Linked DNA regions of Homo sapiens: region 1 is linked to region 2. Evidence: promoter capture Hi-C in 16 types of primary human blood cells and fetal thymus (Javierre and others, 2016). All regions are on one chromosome and are shown on one strand. Each heading gives the region's core, a stretch centred on a gene start or on the middle of the fragment in contact. The rest is flanking DNA. Distances are from core to core; before and after follow the strand shown. Region 1 overlaps SRSF10 (serine and arginine rich splicing factor 10). Region 2 holds the start of LYPLA2 (lysophospholipase 2).

Evidence for each region. Contacts are between HindIII fragments. The CHiCAGO score rates a contact against its expected background, and 5 or more counts as called.
Region 1: a fragment that was not itself captured here is called in contact with the fragment with the promoter of LYPLA2 in region 2 in 5 of 17 cell types (fetal thymus, neutrophils, monocytes and 2 more); the score reaches 6.4 in fetal thymus.

Annotation. Positions count from the first base shown.
Region 1 is chr1:23,964,155-23,968,119 of GRCh38, forward strand. It overlaps SRSF10 (serine and arginine rich splicing factor 10), which reads right to left. Exons shown (of 6, transcript NM_054016.4): 6 at 193-3,965. Among named protein-coding and RNA genes, the nearest start is that of PNRC2, 6.3 kb to the left of the region's middle. The HindIII fragment of the contact is 1,721 bases long and covers 420-2,140 here.
Region 2 is chr1:23,787,842-23,792,427 of GRCh38, forward strand. LYPLA2 (lysophospholipase 2) reads left to right here and starts at 3,304. Exons shown (of 10, transcript NM_007260.3): 1 at 3,304-3,409. LOC105376860 (a long non-coding RNA gene) reads right to left here. Exons shown (of 2, transcript XR_947067.3): 2 at 2,773-2,949. It overlaps PITHD1 (PITH domain containing 1), which reads left to right. Exons shown (of 6, transcript NM_020362.5): 6 at 1-391. RefSeq lists a silencer at 3,482-3,541. The HindIII fragment of the contact is 1,905 bases long and covers 1,764-3,668 here.

The DNA of each region.
Region 1 (3,965 bases), core at 30-2,529, 170 kb after region 2:
AACTTCATGTATTGGACAAATCTCAGCCTAGGTGTCTGTTAGTTTTTAAGCTATATATTGAATCTAGTGTATATATTGAATACACTAGATTTTTAGTGACTAATCTAGTAATACACTAGATTTTTGGTTTGACTCAAGCAAAATGAGTAAATGGAAGTGGGAGTGGAAGATTACCTAACTTCATACTTTAGGAAAGGTACTGATAAAAGTTTTGGTTAGCCTATATAGAGAATGGTGATAGGAATTTCCCAAGTCGATGCAATTGCGAGAACCAAAAATAGCTGGTACAGAGAACTTACCATGTAAGGCTGCTGAAGTCAGCCATACTGTGAACCTTAGGTAAATGCTGTAATTTCAATTTGTCTTCTTTTCGATGGCAGTTATACTATGATGGAATCCAGGTCCAAAACCTATCCTTAAGCTTAAAATAAATACTAATAAACTATCCTCTTCCCTAGAACTACAACACAGGAAAAAACCTGAAAGGTTTTGTGTAAGTTTCAGTTTCTAGTATTTTGGTTGCATTCTTGTAGGCAATTTGTAAAGCAAGAGGGACAGAGTGCATCTCTAAAACCTCTTACACAAATTAGGAAAAAGTTGTACCCAGGTGGTTACAAATCTAAGAGCAAAATCTTAAAAAAACCCAAGATTTATTTTTGGCTCCTAGACCAGTTTATTTCACTTTCCAGCATTCAAAGAAATGTGATCTGCAAAAAACTAGATACAAAGGCCTTTTACTTCTTTACAAACTACGGTTAGTTCTCAATGAATTTACATGCCTCACTTTTTATTCCAAGAAAAATCCCCATTATGCAATACAAGGGTGAAACAGCTGTTACAAATACACAGAAACATAATAAAGATAACCAACACTGTTAAGAGGAAGGGGAAGAGGAAAAAACCCAAGAGAAGGAAACTTTTCCACAGTGACTAGCAGAATGTCTTGTAGATAGCAATAACCGAAGACAAACAGGTTGCTCACTTCATCCTATTTATCAAGTCATCCTATCTAAAATGAGAATAGTTCATGCCTAGGATAGGCTAACTATAGGCTTTGCTAGTCCTCCTTCCTAATAGAATGCCCTCAGATTATTCCTGAGCTATCACTCAAGTCACAGATACTTCAGAATATAATCTTAGGTTTTGTAAACAGGAACATGGTCAAAATGCAATACAATGGAAAATCTCTACAAGAGAATGAGATTTGGAAAGCCATGCTTAGAGTCTCTGAGCCACACAACCATAAGATCTTCGAGTACGTTTAATCTCTCATCCAGGAACATTATCCATTTACCTTGTAAGGTTGTGAGAAATGAATAGCATAATATGCAAGAAGCTATCACATGATGGGTATTCTACAAAGGACAATTTTCTCATCTGTAAAATGGGAATAATACCCATTTCCCAGGAGTGTTTTTAGGATTAAATAGAAATATTTGAAAAGCACATGGTTCGGCACAGTAAGTGCTCAATAATATTGACAGCATTCAGTATAGAGAGAAACAACCACAGAAGAGATCCTAAAGCAATTCATTCAACAGATGCAAAAATTAAAGGGCCTTTTCTGATTTACCATAATTAAATATTTTAGAGAACTACCAACTGTTGTTATTGTAGTTATATATGTATTTACCTAATTTTTTTTAAACAAAACCCCAACTCAATATGCACCTTAATTCTCCCCCTTAAATGTCTTAACTTCAAAAGGAAATGGAGAAGGGAGGTAGAGGGCAAAAAAGTCTATAGCCTCTACATATTCTTTTAAAAATACATAGAACCTCTGTCCATAAGAACCCCTATGTTAATGAGTGTATAACGGTATACAACAAAATACTTTTTGTAATTAAATCTAGTCACTTTGACTCTAAGTAAATTCTAGATCCCATTATATCAATGTTACTATCTCCATGAAAATAAAGCTATAAAAACACTTCCCCATTGGATTAAACAACAAACATGGTAACAAAAGATGAAACAAGTGAAAAATTATGGGCTGTAACCTAGGATCTGACACTTGCTGTGTGATCTTGGGCAAGTTCAAACAAAATTTCTAAAATAAAATACAAACAATAATACCTCCATTTCACACCTCCCTTGAAAATATACCTCTGCTATATTTTCAAAATTGCTACAAATTAAAAGCTTAAATTCCACTTCCAGATTTTTAGTTAATTTTATATGGAAAATTTTAAGTATGTGGCAAAAAAGATGACAAAAATCAAATGTGATGAAATCAATGTATAGGTAAAGAAACATCATATCCTAATAAGAAACTAAGGAATCCAAAACATTTTGTGATACTATAAAAGTTATTTATTCGCTATACACAGAACATGTCCCCTATAAAATGTACATGTAAATCACTAAAAAGTATAATTTGGTGAACATTTTCTCAATTACAGAACATACTAAATCAGTTAGGATAACAGCTCTCTGTCTGCCTCAAAATAATCTAATTATAGCACCCAGTCTCCTTTATACCTAATGCAAAGTTAAATACTTATTTTGGGGGTTATATCCTAGCATGTGTTTGGTGAGGCAGAGTAAACAATTTATTATAACTCTAGTATATTACAGTCACTGCACAATAAACCAGTTTATTACAGATTAAATCATTTTTTCATTATTTATAATAATGTGATCAAATACTGGATACTTTTAAATGGCAGATAACCACACAATTACTTATCCTTGATCGTATATTGTGTTCTATAATTACATTGATACGAATGGTGTAAAATATTGTTATGAATAACACACCTCAAACAAAACAATGAGGCCATACTGTAATGATTCACTAGATTGTGCTCAGTAGACATTTACTGAATAAGGGAATTATCTATTTTTCTCAATTATCCAGTACAATGATTTGCCCACAGTAAGGGCTCAATAAATATTTGCTGAATATACTGACTAGGAAAGAGGTGAGAAGAGATGGGCCCTCTTAGCTGGATGTCAAATATAATTGGAATTTACCTGGGAAGGAGTAGTTAAGACAGATGTAAACTGCATGTGGTGTACAAGTAAATAAACACAGATGCCAACAAAGCAAATGATTAAGCAGAAAACACTGGCACCAAAATAAACAAAGGCAAGATTTGCCAATAATGGCAAAAATGGAACTTTTATATTGGACCATACCTTTTCCCACCCAATTCAGTTTGAGACAGACCAACAGAGGCACTGTAAGAGACTATGGCTGTCTTCCTTGATATTCAGACATCCTAGTTTCCAATAATTTATTATGGACCTGTTACCCATGAATCAATATAAACCTATTCATATTTAGGGATTAGTTTCCACAAGTACAAAGTTGAATTTCCTTTTATTTGTCCTAAAATGCTTACTTTCAAACTTGAAGGGACTTCAATTATTCCATGTAGTTTTCGATAACATTCTTTTATCTTTTCAGACCAGAGTCAAAATATTCGTACAGTATTCATACTGCAGCACCTTCCACCCACCCTTTGGTCGCTTGAACTGCCCTTCTTTGGTTCTTTTTCCGCTTTCAGATCTTTCTTGAAGTGTAGTAAGCAGAACTGTACTGGGTATTCCAGCTGCAGTTTGGTCTTAAATAAAAGAAGGATGTTTGTCAGTTTGGTTTCCTTTATTCTTCTCTGTGGTATACAGGATTTTGTTAGTTGAACTGGATGTAGCAGCTTACTGGGCCAAATTTTCAAGAGAATAATACAATAGTTCCCAGGTCTTTCCCCTGGGATGTAACTTAACAGCTCATACTCTATGTAGCACCTTTCCTCTCTCACTGAAGCATTATCTCTCATTTTTCTTCTTGCTTACTTGGCTTCAAAAAAAAAAAAAAAATGCAGAGAGATCTTAAGTAAAAGGAGAGGTGAAGTGTGTCAGCCCTCATTTGAGTGTTGATATAACCATTCTATTTATCATTGAGCCCAGTCATACACAGTAGGTAAACTCAGTAAGTGGGGGACTCAACTACATCACCCAAA
Region 2 (4,586 bases), core at 2,054-4,553:
CCTGCTTGCTCCTTTCCCCTCTCATTGTTCAGCATTCTTGTCAAGTTGCCCAGCTTGGAGTTGTCTGTCACGCACATGTGTCCTGTGGTTATAGCTAGAAGGACAGGAGTCTCCTGCTGATGCGTGATAGCTTAAGCTTGGGGAGAAGGTCTTTTCCACTGCCTAGCTAAGCAGTCTGGGGAGAGCATGGGGATCATTTCTATGTGTGTGGGTAATCTGGTCAGTAAGATTGAGACTTAGTTAAGATTCCCCTTGGAAATTCCTTAATGTTTATTAGCTTCTAACTAGTGTTGTAAGTCCGATGCCAGAATTTGGAGATTTGAGTTCTTCTTTTCATGGCTTTTATTCACTGTGACTAATAAGCTTCCTAATAAATCCTTGCCAGACTTAATGTTTGTATTTTCTTTTGAGTTCTTGATAGCCACTGATGCAACTTTCATTTCATGGGGAACTGTACTGAACTTTGAAATTTTTTGTTGTTGTTTTGGACTAGGTAGATTATAGGAAGTGCCACAATTAAATCAAGACTGGAGCCGGGCGCGGTGGCTCACGCCTGTAATCCCAGCACTTTGGGAGGCCGAGGTGGGCGGATCACGAGGTCAGGAGATCGAGACCACGGTGAAACCGTCTCTACCAAAAATACAAAAAATTAGCCGGGTGCGGTGGCGGGAGCCTGTAGTCCCAGCTACTCAGGAGGCTGAGGCAGGAGAATGGCATGAACCCGGGAAGCGGAGCTTGCAGTGACCTGAGATTGCACCACTGCACTCCAGCCTGGGTGACAGAGTGAGACTCCGTCTCAAAAAAAAAAAAAAAAAAAATCAAGACTGGATCAGTTTCTCCAGGAATGGTCAAGCTTAATTTTGTACAGTAGGCCAAAAACACTCCTACACCCATATATAGTAAAGAAGAAGGTGGGGTTGAAAACCTGTATTTCACAGAAATTAACTGGGCATGGTGGCGTGCACCTGTAGTCCCAGCCACTTGGGAGGCTGAGGTGGGAGGATCACTGGAGCCCAGGAGGTCGAGGCTACAGTAAGCCATGATTGCGCCACTGCACCCCAGCCTGAGGCAACAGAGTGAGACCTTGTCTCAAAACAACAACAACAAAACCCTATATTTCATTTTGCACAAAAGGAAGTGATTTGTAGAATGACATTTACAAAAATAAGGGAGAACAGATTTTGGAGCTCATCAGAAGAAATGAGGGTGAGGAAAGTAATTGAGCAGCTCATGTGGTCTCCAGGTAGACCAAAGACTTTGGACTTAAATTTTGAAAGTCAGTTTAGCAATTGAAGAGAATGTAAGTATCTAAAAAGGGGATTTGATATGGTCAGTATTCTCTCCCTTGCAGAAAACAGGAACAGGTAATAAAGGGAATTAGTGTTGAATCTGATCCTTTTGGGAGAATTCCTCTGAGGCATTGGCCCATGCTGTTGTTTGGAGGATATAGCCACTGTTTCTCCAGCCTGTCCTAGGAAAGGTCTGCTACCACCAAACCTTGTTGGCCCTCAAAATTTCTAAAATGCAGCCTGAAATAAACCAGAATGCAAATGCTGTTCTTGAAAAGCATGAAGGGTCCTATTCACTCAGCCACAGCCTCTTTATTTCAGTTGGATCATTTTTTGGAGTTAAAAGAAGGGCTATGTTTAAATTTGGAGTAGGGGGAAAAATAAAGTTAAAAATCTTAGAGCAGACTAGCCCTTCACTAATTCCACTAATTAAAGCATTAATCACAGCTCCTGGGACTGAGCCTCTGAATTTGAAGCTTCACTCTGAAGAATTTGTTTTAAGTGTCATGGTGTCTCAGGTGATCGAGGTTGCAGGAGGAACTGTTCATTCTTCCATAAGTGGGGACATTACCCTCCATTTTCTTTTGACATTCAGTCCTGGGTCCTTGGCTTGTGGTGGTCCCATAGGCTCAAAGGTTTCCTGCCCCGAATCCTGGTATTGTAGGCTCCCTGACCTGTTGAGTACTTAGGACCAAAGTGCCTCTGGGCCTGGGGGAAAGTGCTTTGTTGAGCTTCCAACTTTGTACTGTTTTCTTTTTCTTTTCTTTCTTTTTTTTTTTTTTTTTTTTTTGAGACAGAGTCTCGCTTTGTTGCCCAGGCTGGAGTGTAGTGGCACTATCTTGGCTCACTGCAAGCTCCGCCTCCCGGGTTCACGCCATTCTCCTGCCTCAGCCTCCCCCCGAGTAGCTAGGACTACAGGCGCCCGCCACAGCGCCAGGCTAATTTTTTGTATTTTTAGTAGAGACAGGGTTTCACCGTGTTAGCCAGGATGGTCTCGATCTCCTGACCTCGTGATCCGCCCGCCTCAGCCTCCCAAAGTGCTGGGATTACAGGAGTGAGCCACCGCGCCTGGCTGTACTGTTTTCTTTCTGTTCAAAGAAAACACTAGTATAGGTTAGGCTGGGAGAGTGAGTCCTAAGCGGCTGAGGGTCAAGTGTGACTCATTTCCTATTTGCAGATCCCCACACATTCTCAGGGACATGCTCCTTCAACTCAGTTTGCCTGCCTTCTGACTTTTCTGTGGTCCCTGATACCTATTTCCACTTCAGCTTGATGGCAGCGTTTTGTGCACTGTCTGCATGACATTGCTTGTGAAGGGCAGCGCTAACACTGCCAGTGCCTGTCCAGCTCTCCTGATACGGCCTTTGTATTTTTCCTAGGTCCTTTTTTGCGTGATTAACACCTCACGCTGTGATTTTACTGTATAAACCATGTTCACACAACCTCATTTAAGCCTACCAACAAAGCTGTGAAGGAGGCAGGGTGGTTATTACCATTTTATATATCAGGAAGCAGATCCAGAGAGGCAGAATTTAAATGGAATCCCGAGGTTGCTGTTTACATGCCTTCCTTGAGCCTCAGTTTCCCCATCTTCAAGGCTGGAGAACTAGATGATCTGTAAGGTCTCTTCGGTTCAGAGTGTGTCATTCCATTCATGATCCTGGAATAGGGCATGAAAGCCAGTGGCAGACACCCGAGGCCTTAAGAGGTGTGTCCCATGAGGATGGGAAGGTGGTAAAGTTTATGCAAACAATAGTGTGAGGGATGCCTCTCCTTCCGGTCGGCCCTCCTCCAGGAGGCGCATGGGTGGTGGTAGCAAGTGGGAGTCTTGGGTGCCCTGTCTCGAATCTACAAGGTGGGAGCGGGTGAGAACCCAGCGACTGCGCGGCTGAATGACAGGGAGTAGCCCCGCCGCCTCCAACATGGCAGCTTCTATCCAGCGAAGCCGGGTCCCCGCTTCCGGGTTCCGTACTGTCGGCCAGGCTACTTCCGGCAGCGCGATGGCTGGGTTCCCGGGACTCGAACGGAAGTTCCGGCGGGGGCGGCCGAGGGGGAAGAGTGTGTCTGCGGGAGAAAGAGGAGAATCGCCCAAGCGGCCTCGGAAGTCCCAGGGAGTGGAGGTACCCAGCCGGCGGCTGCGGAGGATGGGCGTGTAGGGGGAGGTCGGCCTCGGGAGGGTCCCGGAGAGCGGGGAGGGGGAACCGTGATGGGGGGGATGGGGGTGGGGAGTGAGGTGCGAAGGCGCTGTCCAGTCTTGGGGACTTCGGGAGTGGAGCGGGGCTAGGCAAGGGGGTGTCTGAGTATAAAGAGACAGACTTCAGGGTCGGAAATAGAAGAGCCCATTGTGGGGCGGGGGCTTCCCCAGAGTCAAAGGTACAAAGCTTTATTGTGGGCAGGTGGGAGTCCTGGGTCAGGGTAGAAAATTTCACTGGGTAGGGTGACCTTTGGTCAGAACAGAAGTTCCCATTGTGGGGAGCGGGAGATCCTGGGTCAGGGTGGAAGTTCTCAAGGTGTATAGAGAGAGACAGGTCAGGGGGAAGGCACCCCTCCGAGGAGGGAGCCTGGGCGGGAGGTGCAAGTCCCCACGGTGGAGAAGGAAGGGAATCGCAGCTCAGGGCAGGAGGTGCATTCCCCATGGGAAGAGGAACCCCGGGTCACAGGTGAACGATCCCATTGTGGGGAGCTGCCCTCAGGGGTCAGAGATGGAAGGTGAGGCCAGTTGGGAGGGGTGGGCAGGCACTTGAGGCAGGTAGTGGAAGCTTCCGGCGAGTTTGGAGGACGCCGAGGATGGGGAGGGGCCAGCCAGCCTGACATTCTTTTGTGTGTTTGGGAGTCCCAGAGCGTGGTCAAGCCAGGGCTCGTTTGCAGTCAGTGGCAGCAGCAGCAGGTAGCTCCGTTTAGGGGGGGCGTGGAGCACCAGTTTGGGGGTGGGTGGAGTTCTTACGCTTTCTGGGGACATGGGCAGCCCCCTGGGGGTCTGGGAATGGATGGGCCAGAAACTGCTGTGAAGGCTGGATGGGGGCTGGGTGGGGGGAGGTTGAGATGGGGGTTGGAGGCGGCACTGAGTAGGGGATGGAAGCTCCTTTCCCTGGCACTTTTCTCTCCATTTCCCATAGGGCCCGGAGTTGGGGAGGCAGGGACCCAGGGATGATTGGAGAGGAGGGGGAAGGCACTCACCCCTGAGGAGTTAGAGGGGGAATGAAGCAGGCGTGCCGCTGCCTCCCCTCTGCCCCCTGCCCTACAGTCCCTATGCCCTGCCTCTGCCTGTCTCCAGCAAGCTCAGGTCCTGTGGTTGGG